Linked DNA regions of Homo sapiens: region 2 is linked to region 1. Evidence: promoter capture Hi-C in 16 types of primary human blood cells and fetal thymus (Javierre and others, 2016). All regions are on one chromosome and are shown on one strand. The core of a region is centred on a gene start or on the middle of the fragment in contact, and the rest is flanking DNA. Distances in the headings are between cores, read along the strand shown.

What was found. The method cuts DNA at HindIII sites, captures the fragments that hold promoters and counts their contacts. A CHiCAGO score of 5 or more calls a contact.
Region 2: a contact is called between a fragment that was not itself captured here and the fragment with the promoter of PIK3C3 in region 1, in 1 of 17 cell types (total B cells). The highest score is 6.3, in total B cells.

What each region holds. Positions count from the first base shown.
Region 1 is chr18:41,952,225-41,958,617 of GRCh38, forward strand. It overlaps PIK3C3 (phosphatidylinositol 3-kinase catalytic subunit type 3), which reads left to right and starts at 3,010. Exons shown (of 25, transcript NM_002647.4): 1 at 3,010-3,135; 2 at 5,346-5,534. The coding sequence starts at 3,068. RefSeq lists an enhancer at 2,788-2,967. The HindIII fragment of the contact is 3,603 bases long and covers 1,747-5,349 here.
Region 2 is chr18:42,043,735-42,049,598 of GRCh38, forward strand. It overlaps PIK3C3 (phosphatidylinositol 3-kinase catalytic subunit type 3), which reads left to right. Exons shown (of 25, transcript NM_002647.4): 20 at 1-83; 21 at 5,797-5,864. Among named protein-coding and RNA genes, the nearest start is that of PIK3C3, 91 kb to the left of the region's middle. The HindIII fragment of the contact is 4,090 bases long and covers 1-3,987 here.

The DNA.
Region 1 (6,393 bases), core at 1,760-4,259:
ATATGGGATCATATAATAATCATTGGAAGAGCCTACCACACCAAGAAAACACCTATTTCTGTAAGTTATTTTTCTGCAGACAGGCCACCGTGGACTCTTGCAATGCAAATTGTATCCCATAATTATGAGCGTATGTTATATTCATGATTCATGAAAATCACATGGGAAGGAAAAAATCATTCCTCTCCTTTCAAAATAAGATGCTTAAGGCTTCCTTTTCTCTTATAGAGATGGCCTTGTTAATTGAATTCTGATACTCAAGTCTACCAACCAACACTTCCCTGACTTACAGTACAAAAGGCACTGAGAGTTTTGGTTTCTATAATAATTCTTTCCATGCTTCCATGACTTACCAAAATCTTGCTCCTTATTGGCACATTAGTTTTCCTTGATGTATTAACATATTTAATACAACTACAGTCAAGTTTTCTGAGATCCCTCTATAATACATTTTTAATGTTATTTTTTTCTCTTGATAATCTTTAAAAAGTTAAATCTATTTTGGGTTCTGTGAATGAATATCTTATAACTAAGTACTGACATTTGATTTTCATGCTTTTATCTGTGTTGTGTTTGCAACTGTTTTGGAAACAATCAGTATTACTTTAATTGTTATGAGCTAATGAGAAAAGGACAAAGTCAGGCTTAAAACAAAAAGATGTGTTGTAGGCAAGATAAAGCCAGAATACATCATGGTGGTTACACTCATGAAGAGTTCATAGTTATTTGAATAGAGAAAAAGAGTCTAGAAAAATGAATTGCCCTGTGGAATATAGCAGTATAGACGTGCTGAATTTCAAAGAATCAGTCCTGTAAGAGTAGCCAACACTATATTCCATAATCATTTTGCAAACAACAGTTTCCGTAAAAAATCCCACTATTATATTAAGATTGTTAATTTGAAGTTTTTATATTTAATTTGTAAATTTGTTTGGTTGTATATGTATATAATATTATCTTAGGTTTATACATTAAATACCATTACATAATGAAAGTAATTTATTCACCACTGGGATCAGATAATTTACTCCTTTACACATTGTCAATATTTTATTCAAGATTGAGGTTTCACATCAAACCTCACACTCATTGCTGGAGTTATGCCTTAAACAGAGTACTTGTGACAACAGTGTTACTGTTGAATGGCTGTGATAATTAGAAAGTTCAATTTGTATTGTTTGTTGAAATTACATTTCCTGTAAGTTCCAACCATTGGTGGCAGTTATTCTTAGGAACAAATCAAAGGTGCTCTTTTTGTTTAAACTTTAAGTTATAGGAGGATAACTATCATGTTTTTCTTTATTCTACCCAAATCCTTTTCTTGCCTCCATAAATATTTTTGAGAACTTATTTTGTGTAAAACATTCTGCATTAGCCATTTTTTTTCCTTTTCCAGGTTAAACAGCTCCACACCTTTCACCCTTTCTTGGAAATATTTTTTTTCTAATCCCTCAACATTCTAATTACGCCATTTTGCACATACTTTAGTGATGTCCGTCTTAAAATGCAGCACTTAGAAATAAAGACATAGGCTGGGCGAGGTGGCTCACGCCTGTAATCCCAGCACTTTGGGAGGCCGAGGAGGGCGGATCACGAGGTCAGGAAATCGAGACCATCCTGGCTAACACGGTGAAACCCTGACTCTACTAAAAAATACAAAAAATTAGCCGCGCGTGACGGCGGGCACCTGAAGTCCCAGCTACTTGGGGGGCTGAGGCAGGAGAATGGCATGAACCTGGGAGGTGAAGCTTGCAGTGAGCCGAGATCGCGCCACTGCACTCCAGCCTGGGCAACAGAGAGACGGGCACTCCAGCCTGGGCAACAGAGCGACTCTGTCTCAAAAAAAAAAAAAAAAAAAAAAAAAGAAATGACATAGCAGTTTGGGAGGCCAGGGCAGGCAGATCACTGGAGGTTAGGAGTTTGAGACCCGACTGGCCAACATGGTGAAACCCCATCTCTATTAAAAATACAAAAATTAGCCTGACTGGGTGGCGGGTGCCTGTAATCCCAGCTACTTGGGAGGCTGATGCAGGAGAATCGCTTGAACCCAGGAGATGGAGGTTGCAGTGAGCCGAGATGGTGCCAGCCTGGGCGACAATAGCAAAACTCCATCTCAAAAAAAAAAAAAAAAAAGAAATAAAGGCATAGAAAATGGAGACTTTCATTCAATATCATCATTAATAACCAGTAAGTAGGAAGTATTAAACTCAGCAATGCATTAGACAGCTAGCGGGGCAAGACACGGAAGTAAATGGCACACTGGTCTTACCTTCCAAGAGTTTTCAATCTAATTGGAAGGGAGTATTACAATTTTAGATTATAATAATTATAAAAACAAACATTATAGGAGCTCAGAGGGTTTAGAGATCTGTGTTCTGTAGTTATTACAGGAGGCCTCTAGATTCTAACTTGGGTTAGGGCTTGAAACTACATTGAATTTGAATATTCCCAGTTTAAACATGCACGCAAGTATTATGTCCAAAGTAGCATGAATACTGACAACACCAAACATGAAACCCAGATTTATTTATTCTCTATTTAGTCCTTTCCCTACTCTTTAGAGCAGAAAGAGAAAATCCTTGCTTGAGATAGCAAATTAGTGCTACACTTTTTGGGAAGGCCACTGGAATTTAAACCTGGCAAAATTCCAATTTTTGTGCTTGTAACCTGTTTAGCCGGCAGCCAGTGAAAGCTGTTATAATTCTTTTTGAATTGAATTTTCTTTCGTATTGTTTTAGGTACAGCTCAAGCTCAAATGATAGCGTCTCTTTTTCTTTAAAAAAAAAAAAAAGTGCTGTCAAGACAGGAAAACTGGAATGTAACCAGATTAGCCGTTTCCCGTATACATTTGCCCTTAAGCAAGATGGTGGGCGCCTTGTGCACATGCGCGGAAGGGTTGTTTCGGCGGGGAGTTCCGCCGCGTCGGAACTCGCTCCGGGCGTGGATTGGCGGCTTGCTGGCGGGGGCGGAACCGGAAGTTCCGTGTTGTGGGGCTCAGCTGGTTCATTTATGTTGTTTTTCCTGTACCTAAGTTCCCGCTGTAGGTGGTACCTTTGCAGACGGTGCGATGGGGGAAGCAGAGAAGTTTCACTACATCTATAGTTGTGACCTGGATATCAACGTCCAGCTTAAGATGTAAGAGAACACTCGGGACAGGGAGTGGGATTGCTGGGGCGTAGGGACGTGGGGGCAGGGGCCTGTTGGGAGTGAGAGGCAGAAAGTACGTGACTCGTCTCAAGGCCCAGATTGGGGGCGGCTGTGAGGGCTGTAGCCAGGGAGGCGCGAGAGAGTGGATCGTGGAGAGGGGCTCTTTTGGAAAAGGATTTAATACGTGGTCTCCGTGAGAAGCACAGCAGTAGGAATAGCCCTTAAGTTCCGCTGTATTTTACAGTCTTTAAAGTTTTTGCTGTTCAGCCTTTTGAGAGTTTATTACTATTTCATTGTAAATTAAGAAATCAAGTCTCGTCGTAAGTAAGAGGACGATCTTTATTTTGGAACGGGGCTTGTAGGGTGGAATGAAGGCTTCAGAAATTATGGAGAGGTAGACACAGGCAGATGCGATAGTTGAGAATAAGATGAGCACATGGTGTATTAGCACGGGAGGTGATAGAGGCCTAGAGTGAATCTTTGGGTAGTATGGCAGTGTTTAGTCAGGGAAGTTGGGAGTAAGTCGAAGATGAGGGTTCCAGTTTCAAAGGTACCAAGAAGATAGGAGAAAAGAGTCTTTGCAGGAAAACGTTGGGGCACCACGGCTGAAGTAAAGGTCAAGGGCGTGATATCTTGAGATGAGGATAATAGAACTGGTATAATGACGAGGGATGCACAAGACAGAGTTGGAAATTATGTCCCTTTTAAGGTGGTCATGTAGGAGTGTTGTCAAAGCTATCACAAATTATTGACCATAGCATCATCCATAATTAATAAACATTTCTTGTGTATGTTCAATTAATATTCAACAAATATGTGTCGGTCAAAGGCCTGCAGTAAGTGATAGATAAATTTTCTCAGTTGTCTGATGTACCTTTGAATGATCATTTCATTTTATTTTCAGAAGTCCCTTATTCGCTGACAAATACTTTACTTTTTAGTTTGTGGTGGTGGTGGTAAAAGTAATATGTCAACAACCACCTTGTACCTTTGTATGATACTTTATACACTCATTTAAGGTATTTTCCATAGCATACACCACTAGTAGTTTATACAGGATCAATATTGATAAAGGGCTTTCCTTCAGCTTGATGCTCAGTATTTCTTGGATATATGAATGCATTTTTTGAAATGTTTGAACATTAAAAATAAAGAAAAAGCCAAAAAAACCGGTCCCTTTTTTTTTTTTTTTTTTTTTTGGAGACAGGGTCTCACTCTGTCTCCTTTCCCTTTGGGATGACGTTCTGCTTCTTTTGCTTCAACTCTCATGCATTGTTCAGGATCATTTCAGACATCTATCTGGGGTACTAAGTCCCTTCCCCATGCCAGCCTAAGTACTCTTGAGACTCTGATTTATCTTACTGTAATGGGAAGAATATTGGCTTTGGCCTCCCTGCCCTAGTGTTTATTCTCAGCTCTGTTACTTACGTTGTGACTGTGGATAAGGAGTTTAGTTTATAAGTCTCTGTTTCCTCATTTATAAAATGAGAATATGGTGAAAATTATGTAAGAAAGAAAATATAAAATGCCTGGCACAGTATCTGATGTAATCTTGATGTCTAAAAAATGTTCCTCCCTCTGTGATAGTATCCTGTGCATATCTATTTATGACTTATACCACTGTTTTAAAGAAATGATCAGACAATGCATATGCATAGTAAAAGAAAAAAATGGAAAGAGTAGAATAAAAACATGCAGTTAAAAGTAAATTTTTTTCCCCAGAAGCAATGACTTAATATTTTATTGTAATACTGTATTGCTTATCTTTTCTTTCTTCTGGGCTTCTTTGTCCACTATGGTAAATGTTTCCTGAAAGAATAGATGAATATGTGGTCAACTTGAAATGAAGAAAATGAAACCAAGGCCTAGAAAGCTGGTGACTTCCAGAGGGTAGATCAAGGGTCAATGGCAGCGTTTAAAATTCAGAAGTATAAAATAGAGAAATGTGTTGATGAAGATGGGACTGATATTAGGTATGTTAGGATTTTAAGAAACCCTTATCATATATAAAAATGACATTAATTTCATATACAGGAAAATGTTGTTTAGGTAGCATACCTTAACACAAAGGTAAACTTTTTAGTACTTATGCATATATGTACATGCTTAAAGCATATATGTACATGCTTAGTACTTATGTATATATGTACATGCTTAAAAAATTCATGTCTGAAACATTGTTGGTCTTGTGCTTTCAGAGGAAGCTTGGAAGGGAAGAGAGAACAAAAGAGTTATAAAGCTGTCCTGGAAGACCCAATGTTGAAGTTCTCAGGACTATATCAAGAGACATGCTCTGATCTTTATGTTACTTGTCAAGTTTTTGCAGAAGGGAAGCCTTTGGCCTTGCCAGTGAGAACATCCTACAAAGCATTTAGTACAAGATGGAAGTAAGTTTTTTTGTGGCATATGGTATGTTACAGACTGTTCTTACCTTTCTTTATGGATGCTGCAAGTATAATTTAGTAGGATTATAGAGGAATTTCTTAATACCTATAGGCATTGATCAAATCATTTGAAGTAGAAACATACTCAGATAAAGTATTATGCATGTCAGTATTATAACTGCAATTGAAATAGAAATGGATTTATGTTTGTAGTTAGCATATTGACATTTTGATAAGCACTTGACTGATTTACATGACCAAAAACAAAAACACGTCTGTGGCATTTTAAAATTCTTTACCATCCTGTGCTCTTGAATGCATAAATACTTCTGGATAGTCTGAAATATTGTCCAACCTGATGTTTGGAGCTCAGATTTTTAGAGATAGATCTATTGCCATCGGTTCAGATAAAATTTTTATTATTATTTTACATATGAAACTAATTTATTTAGATTCATAGTTTATTCAGCATGGCACATTAGCAAGACCTTGTCAAGATGCAGGGTAAATATAATGAACATGAAGTTCCTGTTTTTTTCAGAAGAGTATTGTGGATCCTTAATCTGACTTCTTGACACTTCTTATTTGATAGACTATGTAGTGCAGTTCTGATGTTTGATCAGCGAGTGTTATTCAGCACTCTGGTAGGCTCAGTGTAGGATACACAGGCTGTATGCTTTTAAGGAAGGAGTGTTCATGGAAGACAGGATGTGACCACATGGACAGCCAGACTGTGCCATAGAGGGTTCAACCCTGTGTGTCCCAGGTGTCACCCAGTGTAGCTGGAAAGGGTTTTCAAACAGCAGAAGCCTGAACTCTGGTGATCTGGCCATATCGAAACCAAGTATTTTAATGGTGTAAT
Region 2 (5,864 bases), core at 693-3,192, 90 kb after region 1:
CTTTTTTAGAAAATATGCACCAAGTGAGAATGGGCCAAATGGGATTAGTGCTGAGGTCATGGACACTTACGTTAAAAGCTGTGGTAAGTTTTTCAGGCTATTACTTTCCATTGATCAGATAAAGAAGAGCAGGCCATCCTGATATTGCCATAATCATATACATTTAGAACATGTTAATATTTAAATGCTCTATAGGAAGAGTAAAAGATAAATGTTGATTAAAGTAGTCATTGATGCTTTGACATAATAGTATTAACAAGGTGTAAATTCTATTTAGTCTTTCATGGATATATCTTTGTAATCACTGAACTATTTTATAATCACAGTTTATCTCTTCCTGGAAGCTGTTAATTTTCCATTAGATTTTCTCTATTTTTGAATAACAGAAACTAAGTAGACCATGGGAAAAGTTTCAATCAGAAATGATTGTGCTTTAGATAAAGTTTAAGAGCTAAGATAATGGTGCTTCATTAAGAGGGTGCCCTTGTGGTATTTTAGAGTCAGTCCTTATGGTCCATTCCTAGAAATAAGAAAGCAGTAGTAGTATTTCCTAGAAATAAATAGTAAGTGACATAGGGATTAATTTTTATTCTTCAGGCATTTATGTCTAACTTCACGAAGGTTATATTCTACAGGATTTTTTTTTTCATTTTCTTTATTTTTTTCTTTTCTTTTCTTTTCCTTTTTTCCTGGAGACAGGATCACACTCTGTCACCCGGGCTGGCTGAAGTGCAGTGGCGCAATCACAGCTTACTGCGGCCTGGACCTCCCAGGCTCAGGTGATTCTTCCACCTCAGCCCGCCGAGTACCTGGGACTGTAGGAGGTGTGCACCACCACACTTGGATGATTTTTTTGTATTTTTTGTAGAAACAGGGTTATGGCATGTTTCCCAGGCTGGTCTCAAACTCCTGGGCTCAAACGATCACCACCTGCTTTGGCCTCCCAAAGTGCAAAGATTGAAGGCATGAGCCACCATCCCCAGCATGTTTATTTTTTTATTTTGATTTTTTTTATAACTAGATTGTTTATGGGAGGATTGGTAAAGGAGTTGACACTAGAGTTGAGCCCTGAATGACAGGATGTATGATGTGTTATAACTATTTTATATAAGCGCTATATTTGTTTATGTCCCTATTTATGCCTATGCTTAAGCTGGGAGAGCAAGAAGAGGGCTTTCTAGTTAGTTGTTAAGACTATATTTAAACTTGCATATTATTTTCTGGTTTAGAAGTTGCTTTCTTATACATAATATTTTTGTGTTTTTCACAACACCCCTGTGAAGTCACCTTCCAAATTATTTTGGACCTTATTTTCAAATTTATTCGTGATGATACATTTTTGTCTGAAAAGCAGAAAGAAAATGAACTTTGAGAATATGGAAATAAAATTGTGTTTTATAAATTAGAGTCCTTTATAGTTTTAATTCTTGTTTTTACTATAGGAATATAAACATATATTACATGTAACTGAATTTGTTTGTAAACGTGATTACATGCAGTATTTAAAGACTTAAAAACACTGAAGATTTTGAGAGAAAATGTTTACCCTTGTCCTCTTACTCTGTGTTTCTCTCTCTTCCCTTGCTCCTTTCTTGTTTCTCTTCTTTATTTTGCCCCATTTCTCTTCTGTTTTTCTCAGACCTTCAAGTCTATGTTTTCTGTGATCTGAAAAAAAATTGCATATCATCTAAAGGCTCAACTAGGCTGAACATCCAAGATGGATCACTCACATTATTGGCAGATTATACTGTCTTAGCTAGGCTTATTGTGAATCACCTACACATGACCTGTCCCTGGCTTGGGCCTCTTAGAGCTGGGTTCCAAGAGCAAATATTCAGACAGACAGGAAATGGAAAATACTAGTTTCTGAAGGCCAGGGCTGGGAAGCTGGTACTATATCAGCTTATAGTATAACTATATTTTGTTATATTCTGTTGTTCAGAGCAGTCCTAGAGCCTTCCTGGATTTGAGGGGACGGAATATATATAGATCCAAGCTCTGGATGAAAAGGGTGTCACAGAATTTGTGGCCATTTCCATTAGTACGTTATTACATGAGGTGTTTTATATACCCCCAAATAATTATCTTTTACCTTTTTACTATAGCATAGTTATTGTAAACCTTTTAAAGTCATAAATCTGTTTAATAAAGAAATACTTTTTCCACACAAAATACATACACACACGCTTGCCCTGTCAGTATTGACTACAATTTGAAAATTCTGCTCATTAGTAAAATTATCAGAATGGTATGTTACAGGTACATGCTTAATGTCGTACCATTGTGTCTTTTGTATAGTGGTCCATTTTCCCCCCAAGAGCTACTGAAAATATGACTGGCTTTTTCATGGGGAAAGAATAGCAATTTAAATTATCTTACCTATTGGACAGTTAAATTCACATTATATCTTATCTCTCCCCTTTTTTCCAACATTTCACATGTATTCATTCCTCTGTAAGTGATTTAATGGTAGGCCTTCTCTTCATCTAGAAGAGCCTTCTGTTTTCTGTATGGCTTCCTGTATGACAAAATAATCTGTTTTTGTGTAACTTTCATTTTAGAAAATAATGTTTTAATGTTTTTGCAGGGTGTAAGAAAAAAATTGATAATAGTTTTGGTGACATCTTTTCCAGATTATCTAAAGTCTCAAGTGTATATCATGCAGCTAAATGTGGGAATACTGTTTATTCTCACATACACACATATCTTTACTAAGTAAAGGGAAATAGGATCAGTGGTCTATTTGTCTTTATATTTTTCTTTAAGTCAAAGTTTTTTTATAAAAACAATTTCAAGATGTTTTGTATCTCACATGGAATAAAAAAACTAACAACATTGTTTTGACAAGATTTTCTTGGACAGAAATAGTGTTTCCATTGTTGTATAGTTAAAGAATAACATCAATTTCCCTAAAAATTTTCTAGCAAATTTATTTCAGGTCATCTTAAATCATTCTGAGTATTAGTTATCTCCTCAACGTTTCTGAGGATCATCCCATTCTTACCTCAAATGTTTTGTTGTTATTTTTCAGGATGTAGCCTTGTTTAAAGTGCCCTACTGAGTATTGACACTTTAAACTATTGAAGCACTCTAAATTTTCATCTTTACTATTAAATATGGCCATATGTTGATACATATATTTCACTTGACTAAACATGTTTATCAGAATGACCATCCAACGTATTTATGACCATAATCCACTGAGCCAGGGCAAAAGACCCTTACTTATTTTTGCATTTCCATATAACAATGAAATGCACTCTCAAATTTGATGATGAGTAGTTTATAGAAATATTTTGCTTTATCGTTAGGATTAAGCATAATTCATGTATATCCAGTTACATGAAAATTTTAGGTCAGAATTAACTGTTGCAACACAGGTGAATCAGTATTCTATAGAGATAGCTAAACTTGAAACAAAGTAAATAGTGACAAAAACTAACTGTAATTTATAATTTAAAAATGGGAATAGTAAGTAGGTCTGGATTGAACAACTCAGCTGCACTGATGTACAGTGATGTTATTTTTCAAAATTGTAGGAATTTCGCTTGTCTTCATATGCACATTATCGGTAGTTTAGTACCCTTGAGTGGCAGGTAGATTTCTACGAATCACATGTTAGAGAACCTAAGTGTACTAAGTTCTCATATGTTCTCAGGGTATTGTACTTAGTTTCTCTTTAGGAATATCAAATTTAATATCCCTCAGTAAGTCACTTAGTTATTTTTCAATGGGGAGTCTGTAGTCATTTTTGAAATTGCATGTATTGTGGCAGTTTTAGAGCAGTGCTACTTAAAGTGTGATCTGTGGACCCACAGTATTGACTTTACCTGGGAGCTTGTTTGTATTACAGAATCTTGGGCCTTACCCGACTTCTGTGATCAGAATCTTCATTCTAACAGGATTTTCAGGTGATTCTTATGTTCATCAATACACTAGAGTTTAGAGAAGGCTTCTCAACCTTTGGTGTGCATAGTAATTTTTGAAAGCTTGTTAAAATGGAATTGTGGCTGCTGCCCCTAAAAATTCTGATTCAGTAGGACTGAAGTAAGGCTGAAGAGTTTACATATTTAATAAGCTTTCAAGTGATAGTGATACTGCCAGTCTGTGGGATCACATTTTGTGTAGCAATGCTCTAGATCAAGGGTGAGTAAGACTTTTCTCTAAAGCTTTGCAGATAGTAAATATTTTAGGCTTTTCAAGTCAGATGATCTGTGTAACCATTCAACCCTGCCATTGTAATGCTTAAACCAGTGTGTAAATGAATGAGTATGACTGTGTTCAAATAAACTTTACAAAAACTGAGGGGAACCAGATTTGACCATCAGGCTGTAGTTTATTCTCCCTTCATCTAGATACCCTTTAAGTCCTCCTCAGTGGACCACTAAATGTTATCATTGCATTTAGCTGCAGTTAACATAATGTACCTATAGTGATTTAATCATAAGAGTTTATTTTCTCTTTTGTGACAAAACTAGTTATAAGAAATTGCTGTTGTTCTAACTATTTAAGGTGATTAGGACCAGGTGAAGGCTCTGTGTTTCTCTGTGATTCTCTTGCCCTTTTCCTTATGGTCTGCAACTACAGTCATCATGTCGCAATCTAGACAGGAAGGAGAAAAGGCCTAAAGGGCTAACCTCCTAGCTGAGTCAGCCGCTTGCTTAAAACTGCTTTCCTTGCATCTATATTTGCTTACATTTCATTGGACACAAATCCCAGCCCAGTGACTTTGAACAATACTATTAATTCTTGGAGCCTGAAGTTTTTCATTTGAAGGATGGTTATCTACTTAACTGGCATCATTAAACAGGTTAGAAATGATGAATATGATATGCCTAGCTAAGAGCCTAGTCTTCAGTACATTGTAACTGTGATTATTATTAATTAATACTATTTTTCCAATAATTATGCCATTGCTTAAGTTGCTTTTGGACTTCTGGAATGGCCTTCAGAACCTAAGTCAAATGAACTTTATTATTTATTGAATTTGAACAGGGTTATAAGTTCATTAACAGGTGGTCCCATCTTGTTTTTACACATGGGCTGAAATAAACAGGTTTTTGTAAATATTGCTATAGTTTTATATGTTTACAAGTTGTGTTTGTTGTCAGGTTATTAATGGTAGAAATAAACATAGTTAAAAAAACAAACTCCAAAAGGGTGCTATTTGCTAAATTCTGTTTAAGTAGTTTCAATAAATGCTAAATTTCCAGACTTTTTTTAGAATAAAAAGATAACAGAATACAGCTAGAGCCAATGTCTTTGCCTTTAGCCTTGATCATGTAATTTTTCTTAATGCTTTAGAAGATTATTGTGTTAACTTCATAAATGTCTTTACCACTCAAATGAATGCATTTGGTTTTCTATCTGCTTCCATTTCAAGATTATTTTTCCACAGACTTAAAAAACAATTTAACCCTGCATTTACTTATGTTATCTTACAGATAACATGGTTACGAGTTATGGGATAATTGACGGTTGACTTTTAACTGTGTCCAATTTGATATTAGAATTGCTAGGCCCATGTTATAATTTAAGGTCTCCTGAACCTAACTTAAGTTTTGATGCAAGTGACTTTTGTAATTTAACAGAATTCTACAAGATTTTCTCTTTTAAATAGTACTTTGAGTTTCAAGTGACAGACATGAAGATTGCATATTTGAGAATTCAGATGAGAAACCAGAGACATTAGAAAACAAATTGATATTAAAGTTGCACAAACTGCTTTTATATTCAGTAGAATGTATAACCTGGTTTGCATTTGTTTTCACATATTTTTTTTAACTGTTACTGCAGCTGGATATTGCGTGATCACCTATATACTTGGAGTTGGAGACAGGCACCTGGATAACCTTTTGCTAACA